Regions from separate parts of the Homo sapiens genome. Here regions 2 and 3 are each linked to region 1. Evidence: promoter capture Hi-C in 16 types of primary human blood cells and fetal thymus (Javierre and others, 2016). All regions are on one chromosome and are shown on one strand. Each heading gives the region's core, a stretch centred on a gene start or on the middle of the fragment in contact. The rest is flanking DNA. Distances are from core to core; before and after follow the strand shown. Region 1 holds the start of UCN2 (urocortin 2). Region 2 overlaps PLXNB1 (plexin B1). Region 3 has its middle 27 kb from the start of FBXW12.

Region 1 (2,700 bases), core at 201-2,700:
TCGGAGGCAGTGTTGAGCTCTCGTGTTGAGGCTCCTGAAAGTAACATGATGATGACTGCATGTGGCGGTGTCCAGGTGTTCTGTGACTATGGGGCACCCAGACATAGCAAGACTCGCCACAGCAGTGACCTTACGTGGCAGCATCCAAGCTGTCCGGACATATATTAGGTCTGTGGGGCACACAGGCATGGCAAGACTCCATGTGGCAGTGACCCAACTTAGCAATGTCCAATGTCCAGGCTGTCCAGACACACTGTGACTCTGTGGGGCACTCAGATCTGATATGACCTGCATGACAGTGGCTCCATGTGGCAGTGTCCAGACACTGTATGCCCAGATGTGGCAGCGTCCAGACACTGTATGCCCAGATGTGGCAGCATCCGTCCAGCTGTGTGGCTGCCCTCCAGGTCTTCCCATCCAGGGTGGCCCTATCACTGTGACCCCCTCTCTCAGGCTCAGCAGTGGCCGACACGGGCCAGGATGCGGGCGTTGGTGGTGGCCTGCTCCCTGGCAGCCCTGGCCCGGGCTTGCTCCAGTAAGATCTGCAAGAGGCCGATGGGGACATCCAGCGATAGGACAATGCGCGAGCCAGGGTGGCGGGTGGGGCTGCAGTGGCTCTGGGCAGCCCACGGCCATGTGGGAGCAGCTGAGGGGCTCTCTGAGGCCGCAGGTCGGGGAGTGGTCTGGGGAGAATTCTGAGGGCGGAGCTGGAAGGTTGGGATAGGGGTCACTGGGACAACCAGGACTCTGCCCAACATCAGGACCATCAGCAACAGCAGAGCACACCTGGTCATCGTGAGGTCAGGCTGCAAGGAGAAAATGGGCTCAGGGCAGGGGCTCTGGTCAACTGGGGTCCATGGACAGAGACAGATGGCAAGGGCAGAGTGACAGAGCGGGGGATGGAGAGAGAGGAAGACACCGAGAAAGGGGTTAGAGAGGCCAGGCCAGGCCAGAGACAGAGAAGGGGAGACAAGAGGAGAGCCAGAATGAGACAAAGAGGCAGAAAGCAAGACAGAAAAAAAGAAACAAAGAAATCCAGAGACAGAGGGACAGCAAGAGAGGGAGATGAAGGAGATGGAGGCAGAGCAAAATGGAGACTAGAAGAAAAAGACAGACAGAAACCATCCCAGAGACAGACAGCATGATGGAAAGAAAGATTCAGACAGAAACACAGAGTCCACAGGAGGGCAGGCGGTTCTCAGCAGGAGAGCTTGCAGCTGATCCAGGAAACAGAAGGGCAGGAATCGGATCTCAGAGGCAGAAAAGCAGCCAGAGATCCCAGAGTCCCCTGGGTCCAAGCCCTCCATAAAGCCAAACCCCACATCCACTCAACCTCCAAGACCCTTCCCATCCCGACCCAACCCAGTCCTACCGCCACCAGCTGCTTCTGGGGTAAGGCAGCCTGCTGTGGCTGCCTGGGGCTGGGGCCAGGCACTACTGTCCTGTGGTCTGACCCTCTACCCCGCTTCAGGGCCCATTTATCTCCCTCAGCCCCCTGGGGTGGGAGCTGGTACATGCTTCCTGGCATGAGGCAGCCCCCCACCTATGACTCATCCCTCCCGGGGGTGTCCTTAGCCCCCACCCTATCTACTCTTTTCCGGGGACAAGTTGGGGACTGAGAATCACAAGACAGTGACCAGGACTGGGCAGAGGGACTCTGTACCCATGCAGAATAATACCAACCCCCCAAGGAAAACCTTCCCCCTTGAAACCCCCCATCTTCCCAAACAGTCACAACAGGAGCCTTTTAAAACAGCAGCTTTAATGCCCCCCAGAATCAGCACCATGTCATCACAGGCTTGGGTCAAGGGGCGGGTCAGACGCCAGTCACATCCGCTCACTGCCCACAGCCACCCCCCCACAGTGAGTCATCTGCCAGGGTGGCAGGAGCCACAATGGGGGTTTGTCCACAGGGGGGAAGGCTAGACCCACGGGACCAAGTCACTGAAATAACGGACGTGCACACGCACGCTCACGTGCACACAAGCCTCTAGCACCAAGGGGAGGGACAGTGGGGTTCTGCTGAGACCCCGACTCCTCCAGGGGATGCTGAATCTCAGCTCATTATCTGGGCCTCAGTCCTGGGCAGTACCTGGTGAGGACAGGTTGGAAACGGTCGTCAGCCATCTGACCTTCCCCGGAGACGCTCAGGCAGAGGCACCGCCAAGGGGAGGGAGCGGAGGCTACAACAGGAAGTGGGGGCTCTGACCTCAGAGGGGTCCATACTTAGGTCTTTAAAGGAGGGAACATGGAAGGGGACCCTACTGGGGGCTCCACGGCTGGGGCTCTATATTCAGCTCTTTGGTCTGGGCGTCTGCCCCAGGTCCCCTACTGCGAGGGAGCGTCTCCTCCAGGACCCTGACCTGGAACCCTGGCCCAAGGACTCCTCCCCCAGAACCCGATCCAGGCAGGCTCAGTGCCCAGTTCCCCACGGTGGGGGCTCAGCCCATACCTGTCCCCTGGCTCTGGACCACCCGGGGTGGGCAGCGGCGCTCGCAGGCCTCACGGGTCCCAAAACGGTTGGCATTCCCTCCACAGCCACCATAGACAAAAGGGTGACAGGCCTCTGTGCTGCCTGTCACAGCCCGATGGTACCAGCGCAGGGTGTAGGCAGTGCAGGAGCCCTCATCCAGTGGCAGGGAACAGGGGTCTGGGCCAATGGGGTCAAGTCAGCAGGGTTTGTGGGAATCAGAGAGGGTT
Region 2 (2,700 bases), core at 165-2,664, 150 kb before region 1:
TTCTGGCCACGGACGCATATCTCACGTCCTCCACTGAAACAGACCGTGAGCTTACGTAACGTAAGATGGCTTATGTTACCTGGACCTAAAGCACAGCCCAGTCCCGGCTAGGTCAGCTCAGCCCCAGCCCCAAACCACACGACCCCTTGCCCCTACTAGCAGCATGGGATTCTCAGTGCCTCAACATAAAGCCCTACAAACCCCCACATAGTGGAGCTGCAAAGACCTCCCTGCCACCTGCCATGCAGCCACACCCCTGGCCCAACACCTGAGGAAGCTCTTGGTGGGGCCAGCAGAGGTGATGTTGGGGTCCAAGGTATACTTGAACTGTCCGCGTTGAAGCCTCCGCTCCGTGGCCCCAAACCACACAGCCACAGGGAGCGTGGCAGGCGTGGGGCGTGGGCTGGTCTCACACCGCAGTTGTTCTGACTGCTGCTCCGGCAGCCTGGGAGGGGAGGTGGGAATGAATGCAGGGGCGCAGGCAGGGAAAACTTGGACCACTCAGGCCCCAACTGGCTTCCCTCAAGCGCTGACTGCAGTCTCCACCAGGTGTCCCTGGAGGTGCACTCCCACCACAGCTGGCTAGGGAGGGTCTGGCCACTCTCTGAAGGAGCAGACTGGCCCTCTTCCCCTTTCTGCTCTCCCCAGGATCTCAGACCCCTCCATCTTTCCCCTGGAGCAGATGGATTTTTGCAGGATGAGGAAGTGGCCCTCACAAGTGACAAGGCTGGTCTCCAACCACCACTCGGATGTCCTCCAGCCGCCCAGTCAGGAGCTTGGAGCCATTCAGGGTGAGACGGGTGCCCCCAGCTCTGGGGCCGCGGGCCGGGAAGATGGAATGGACCTTCGGATCCTGTGGGACAGACAGGGAGAGAGATGAGCATCAGACCAGACACATGGAGGCAGGGACAGCCTGAGAGACAGGCTGGCCCAGGACTGGGAGCCCCACCAAGGAATAACCAGATGGGTTGAGAGGAGCCACCAGAGAGGTTGGCCCGCTGGCAGCTGGGGGTGGCTCAGCAGTCAGGTACCTGGTAGGCAAAGTCGTGTTCTGAGACACCACGTCCTCTTCCCGGCACCTCCACCGCTGTGGCGCCGGCCACCTCCTCCCCACTGGCCCCGGTGATGCACACGAGGCTGTAGGCACAGGGCAGGCTAGGGGGTGCCAGGCTGCATCAAGGGCCCCTCAAGCTTACCTGGCAGCCCCTCTCCCTGCCCTACTGTCAGGTGGTCTTCCCCTTCCCATGCTCCATAAGATTGACAGAGACCCTCTCTCACTTTGGAGGGAATTCTTTATGACACATCAGAAGGCCTTGGTATCTGAGAATTAATATTTGTGGCTTCAATCATTTAAGTTCAACCCCAGGGGCCCCCAATAAGGAAGAATTTATCTGTGGCATAAATTTACAAAGGGGCCCTGTCAGCCTGGTTGTGGGGCGAGCTGCTGAGCAAGTGAGTGGGCACAGCTAGCCGCCCATGTCCTCCGCCACGTCACATGCACAGTACCCACTCAAAGCATGGTAGAAACTTGATTTATTCAGGAAAAAGAGTCCCTGAAAGCCTCTAGTCAGACAGGGAAATACAGGTGAAGGGAAAGTGAACCATCTAAGAAAATGCTGGTTCTTAGCCAGAAAATAGAAGCTTGGGCAAATTAAACTTCCAGAGTGTTAAGCCTGCAGTGGCTCAACTCAGTGACATTGTCACAGTTGTTGCAAACACTAGGAAGACACAAGTGACGTGTGAGCCACCCAGGGGAGGCTCCAGACAGAATATATGCTAATTGCTTCATAAATCACAGCAGTCTTATGGTCTGGAACACTAACAGTCTAGATAGTCACCGTAAGTTCTCGGTCATAACACATTCAGGGGACACTCCGTGCTCCAGGAGAGTGGTTCCTTGTTTCAAATACAGATTTGGGGGCCCCACCGTGGGCCTCCTGAATCCAGATGTTTGTGTTGGTTTGGGACAGGATCTGCAGGTTACCCTGATATTCAGCCACGTTTGGGCCCTGCTGCTTATGGACATCTCCTTAGGAATGTCCTGCGTGTGTACCTTTGGGGCCTGCAACCGCTGGCCAGGTTACCATAACCCAGGAGCCCCAGGAAGGCAGCAGGGGTCCCTAGAGACGACAGTGGAGCCTGGCCCTCGGCCAGTGTGCCTTTCTGAGGTGTGCCTTCCAAGTCTACCTTCCTGAAGAGCCTGGCAGCCCAGGACAATGCCTGGGGAAGAGTGAGCTGGTGAGAAGGCCAGCCCCTGAGCTTATCTGTCTGATCTGAGGGTCCTGCTGCCACAGCTATTAATATATCCACAGTCCCTCAGAAGACCAGGTGAGCAGAGCAGGAAGCAGAGCCACGAGTCAGTTCTGGGCAGTGACGGGCCCAGGAAGGATTCCCCAGCAGCCCAGGCCAGGAACCTACAGGTGTGGTGGGTGCTCAGGGTCTTCAGTGGCAACGCTGGCACTCGGGCATTGTGGCCAGGATCAAGGAACAGGGAGAGAGGGGGGCAGATGAGCGGTGGGTGGGAGGCCCCAAGCAGCAACGCCAACCGCGGAGGCCCCAGGCTGCGCCGTGCTCCTGCTGGGTGCAGCCAGCTTACCTGCTGGAGACCTCGTACTCCTGGGCATCCACAGCACAGGGCACTCCAGCCACCGTGACCATGCCCAGCACATCCTGCACATGCTGGCCCAGGTTGGAGCCCCT
Region 3 (2,700 bases), core at 51-2,550, 160 kb before region 1:
TATAGGATCCAAAAGTTGACAGAGTTAAAAGGAGAAATGGGCACAGCCATGGGAGGTGTGAGAAGGGAGCCAGTGGGAAAGCAAAAGACTGAAGAACAAGGAGACTGGGGTGGGGAGTAAGAAGCAAAGAAGGACCTGGGCTTGGCTGGTCCTCCAAGGGACCCAGGGACCCGGTCCAATCATGGACTGAGGACATGGGCTCAGGAGGTGGACTGAGGCCCCCGGAGAGAGCGGCAGGGTGGGAGGTGTAACCTGCACAGCATGGAGCAGTGGGAGCCTGGGGTTCCATCTGGAGACATGGGTTCTAGTCCCACTTGCTGTGTTTTTGGGGCATGTCACTCCATCTCCCTGGGTTCAGCCTCCCCAGGGAAGGACACTCTCTCCACCCTTCCCCAGCCTGGCCCTCACAAACGATGATGCCAAAGCAGTATCCTTCATGTGTGGGGTTAGCGATAGGGCCGCTGGCCAGAGAGAAGATAGAGGCAGGGCCTCTGGCATTGTGTGGAGCCTGGATCTTGCTCTGCAGTCTGGGAGAACCCTGGGCATGGGAGGAAGAGCCAAGAAACCTCTCAGGCTGGATGACAGCCTCTGGGGGCTCACACCGTCCTCTACCCTAGGAGAGGCCAGGGCAAGGTGTGCACCCTGCTGCTGTGCACCTTCTCCTTGTCCTCCTCTGAGGCCTCAGGCAGTCGCCCAGTTGGGTCACTCTTCACCAGGGTTAGGCCTGGCACCTTGGCATGGAGGGCCAGCTCTTGCCCACAGGCTCTAGAGGCCCTGAGGGTCACCAGGGCCCTTCCCCCTCCCGTGACAGCTTGCACAGGATGCTGTCTTTGGAAAGGTGGTTAGGGACTCACACCTTACAGAAGAGGAACCAGAAGCTTGGAAAAGATGACTGTTCCTAGGTGGTCAGTGCCAGGGCCTGGCCAAAGCCCACTTCTCAAGCTCCAAGTCCATGGGGTGTTCCACCAGAACATCATTCCCCATTGAGCAGAGCCTCTGCCTGTCCCCAATGCTACACACACACTTCAAACATATACATCAAACACACAGACACACACACACACAGAGTTCTGCTGCCTCCACTCCAGTCAGCAACCTGGGCTGGGCGCAGGCGCGAGGGTTTGTCTCTGCGTGGGGGCTTGGGAGTGCCCCACACACATTTCTTTGGGTGTAGAGAACCAGGCGTCCTGCCCCTCCCCCAGCTCCGGATGGGTCTGTGCCTGGCCCTGCTGACTTCTGCCCTGAGATGAAGCTGTAGACACAGCCTGTAGTGTGGAGTCTTCCTTGGGTCCCTATTTGCACACCCAGCATCCCACCCAACCTGGAGATAAGGTGAAGAGGCCCAGTCAGCCCCCAAAATTTGGTGTTTCCAAGGTCCTTCAGGTGGACAGTGCAGCACCGCCCAAGGAGCACTAGGGCATGGAGTGCGGTGGAAAATTCTGCAAGCCAGGGGGCTGGAAACCAAGTACTGCTATGGCCGTGACCTTGTGGCCTTGAATGACAAAGCACCTGCTAGGTGCCTCCCAGGACAGCAGGTCCTCAGGCCAGAGGCAGTTTTCTGCCCACTTCTTCACCACTCAGCAGTCCAGAGGCTGCCCTGCCATTCAGGCTCCCCTGCCCTCTGGCTTTCAGGTGGCTTGGCCAACGGGACGGGCTGGCAGGAGTCTGGGCAGTGGGGAGGAACAAGAGGCCAGGGTAATTATTCCCCCAGCATCCTCCCTCTGAAGCTTCCACCTTTAGCCACAGCCCCACTGGTCCTGATGACTACTCTGTCCCTACCCCTAGAGCCCAGGACTGGTAACAGCTGTGCTTCACCATCCCTTATTGGCTTCCCAGAGCCTGCAGCTCTGTAAGTAGTCCCCTCATTAAACTCTCTTCCAGCTGCATCTTTCCTGGTACATGCTGTCAGTTTCCTGCCAGGAGCTGGACTGATCCAGCACTTGATAAATGTTTCTTCATTAAATCCTGCCAGGTGCCAGCTTGGGATCCAACCCCATGACACAGAGTGGCTCCTGCCACATGCCAGAATGTCCCTGCCCTTCTCTCCAGAGGCCCAGTCAGTGAGAGGAGGAGGAACTAGAATCCAGGTCTCCTGCCTCCCAGAGCAAGGCTCCTGTCACTCCACTCCCTGGGGCTTCTTGGGCCTGAGATCTTGAGGCAAGTCTGGTGGTGGAGGAGGTCTTGAGCAAGACAGGCTTGAATCCTCTCTTCCTGGTGGCACCCATTCACTAGGGCAGCAGGTGCCCCAGCAGCACCAACTCACCAGCATGGGTGGAGGGGCCAGGTTAGCAGGTTCCCAGGCACCTGCAGCGTCAGCCAGCATGCAGCTCCTGGCTTCCCACGGGCGCCACTGACTCAGCAGTCAGAGGCTGTGGGTAACACTGCTGCCCCCTTTGCCAGCTTATAGGTGACAGAGGCTTCTATAGTCACTCACCGCTGGATAACTACTCCCCTTTTTGTCCTTCACACACTTTCATAATCAATCCCTTATATTTAAATTCCTTCCATTGGAAACACCTAGAGTGGTTTCTGGTTTTTTGTTGTTGTTGTTGTTGTTTTCTTTTTGAGACAGAGTCTCATTCTGCTGCTCAGGCTGGAGTGTGGTGGCATAATCTCAGCTCAGGCTGGAGTGTGGTGGCATAATCTCAGCTCAGGCTGGAGTGTGGTGGCATAATCTCAGCTCACTGAAACCTCTGCCTC

The links. The method cuts DNA at HindIII sites, captures the fragments that hold promoters and counts their contacts. A CHiCAGO score of 5 or more calls a contact.
Region 2: a contact is called between a fragment that was not itself captured here and the fragment with the promoter of UCN2 in region 1, in 2 of 17 cell types (naive CD4 T cells and neutrophils). The highest score is 6.4, in naive CD4 T cells.
Region 3: a contact is called between a fragment that was not itself captured here and the fragment with the promoter of UCN2 in region 1, in 5 of 17 cell types (naive CD4 T cells, total CD8 T cells, naive CD8 T cells and 2 more). The highest score is 7.5, in naive CD4 T cells.

What each region holds. Positions count from the first base shown.
Region 1 is chr3:48,562,331-48,565,030 of GRCh38, forward strand. UCN2 (urocortin 2) reads right to left here and starts at 1,451. Exons shown (of 2, transcript NM_033199.4): 1 at 1,373-1,451; 2 at 1-806. The coding sequence starts at 794. The coding sequence ends at 456. It overlaps COL7A1 (collagen type VII alpha 1 chain), which reads right to left. Exons shown (of 119, transcript NM_000094.4): 118 at 2,453-2,650; 119 at 1,743-2,092. The coding sequence ends at 2,076. It also overlaps a transcript of PFKFB4 not described here. The HindIII fragment of the contact is 21,136 bases long and covers 1-2,700 here.
Region 2 is chr3:48,415,315-48,418,014 of GRCh38, forward strand. It overlaps PLXNB1 (plexin B1), which reads right to left. Exons shown (of 38, transcript NM_001130082.3): 16 at 2,597-2,700; 17 at 1,032-1,137; 18 at 717-853; 19 at 269-445; 20 at 1-33. Among named protein-coding and RNA genes, the nearest start is that of PLXNB1, 13 kb to the right of the region's middle. The HindIII fragment of the contact is 450 bases long and covers 1,190-1,639 here.
Region 3 is chr3:48,397,730-48,400,429 of GRCh38, forward strand. No RefSeq gene overlaps it. Among named protein-coding and RNA genes, the nearest start is that of FBXW12, 27 kb to the left of the region's middle. The HindIII fragment of the contact is 849 bases long and covers 877-1,725 here.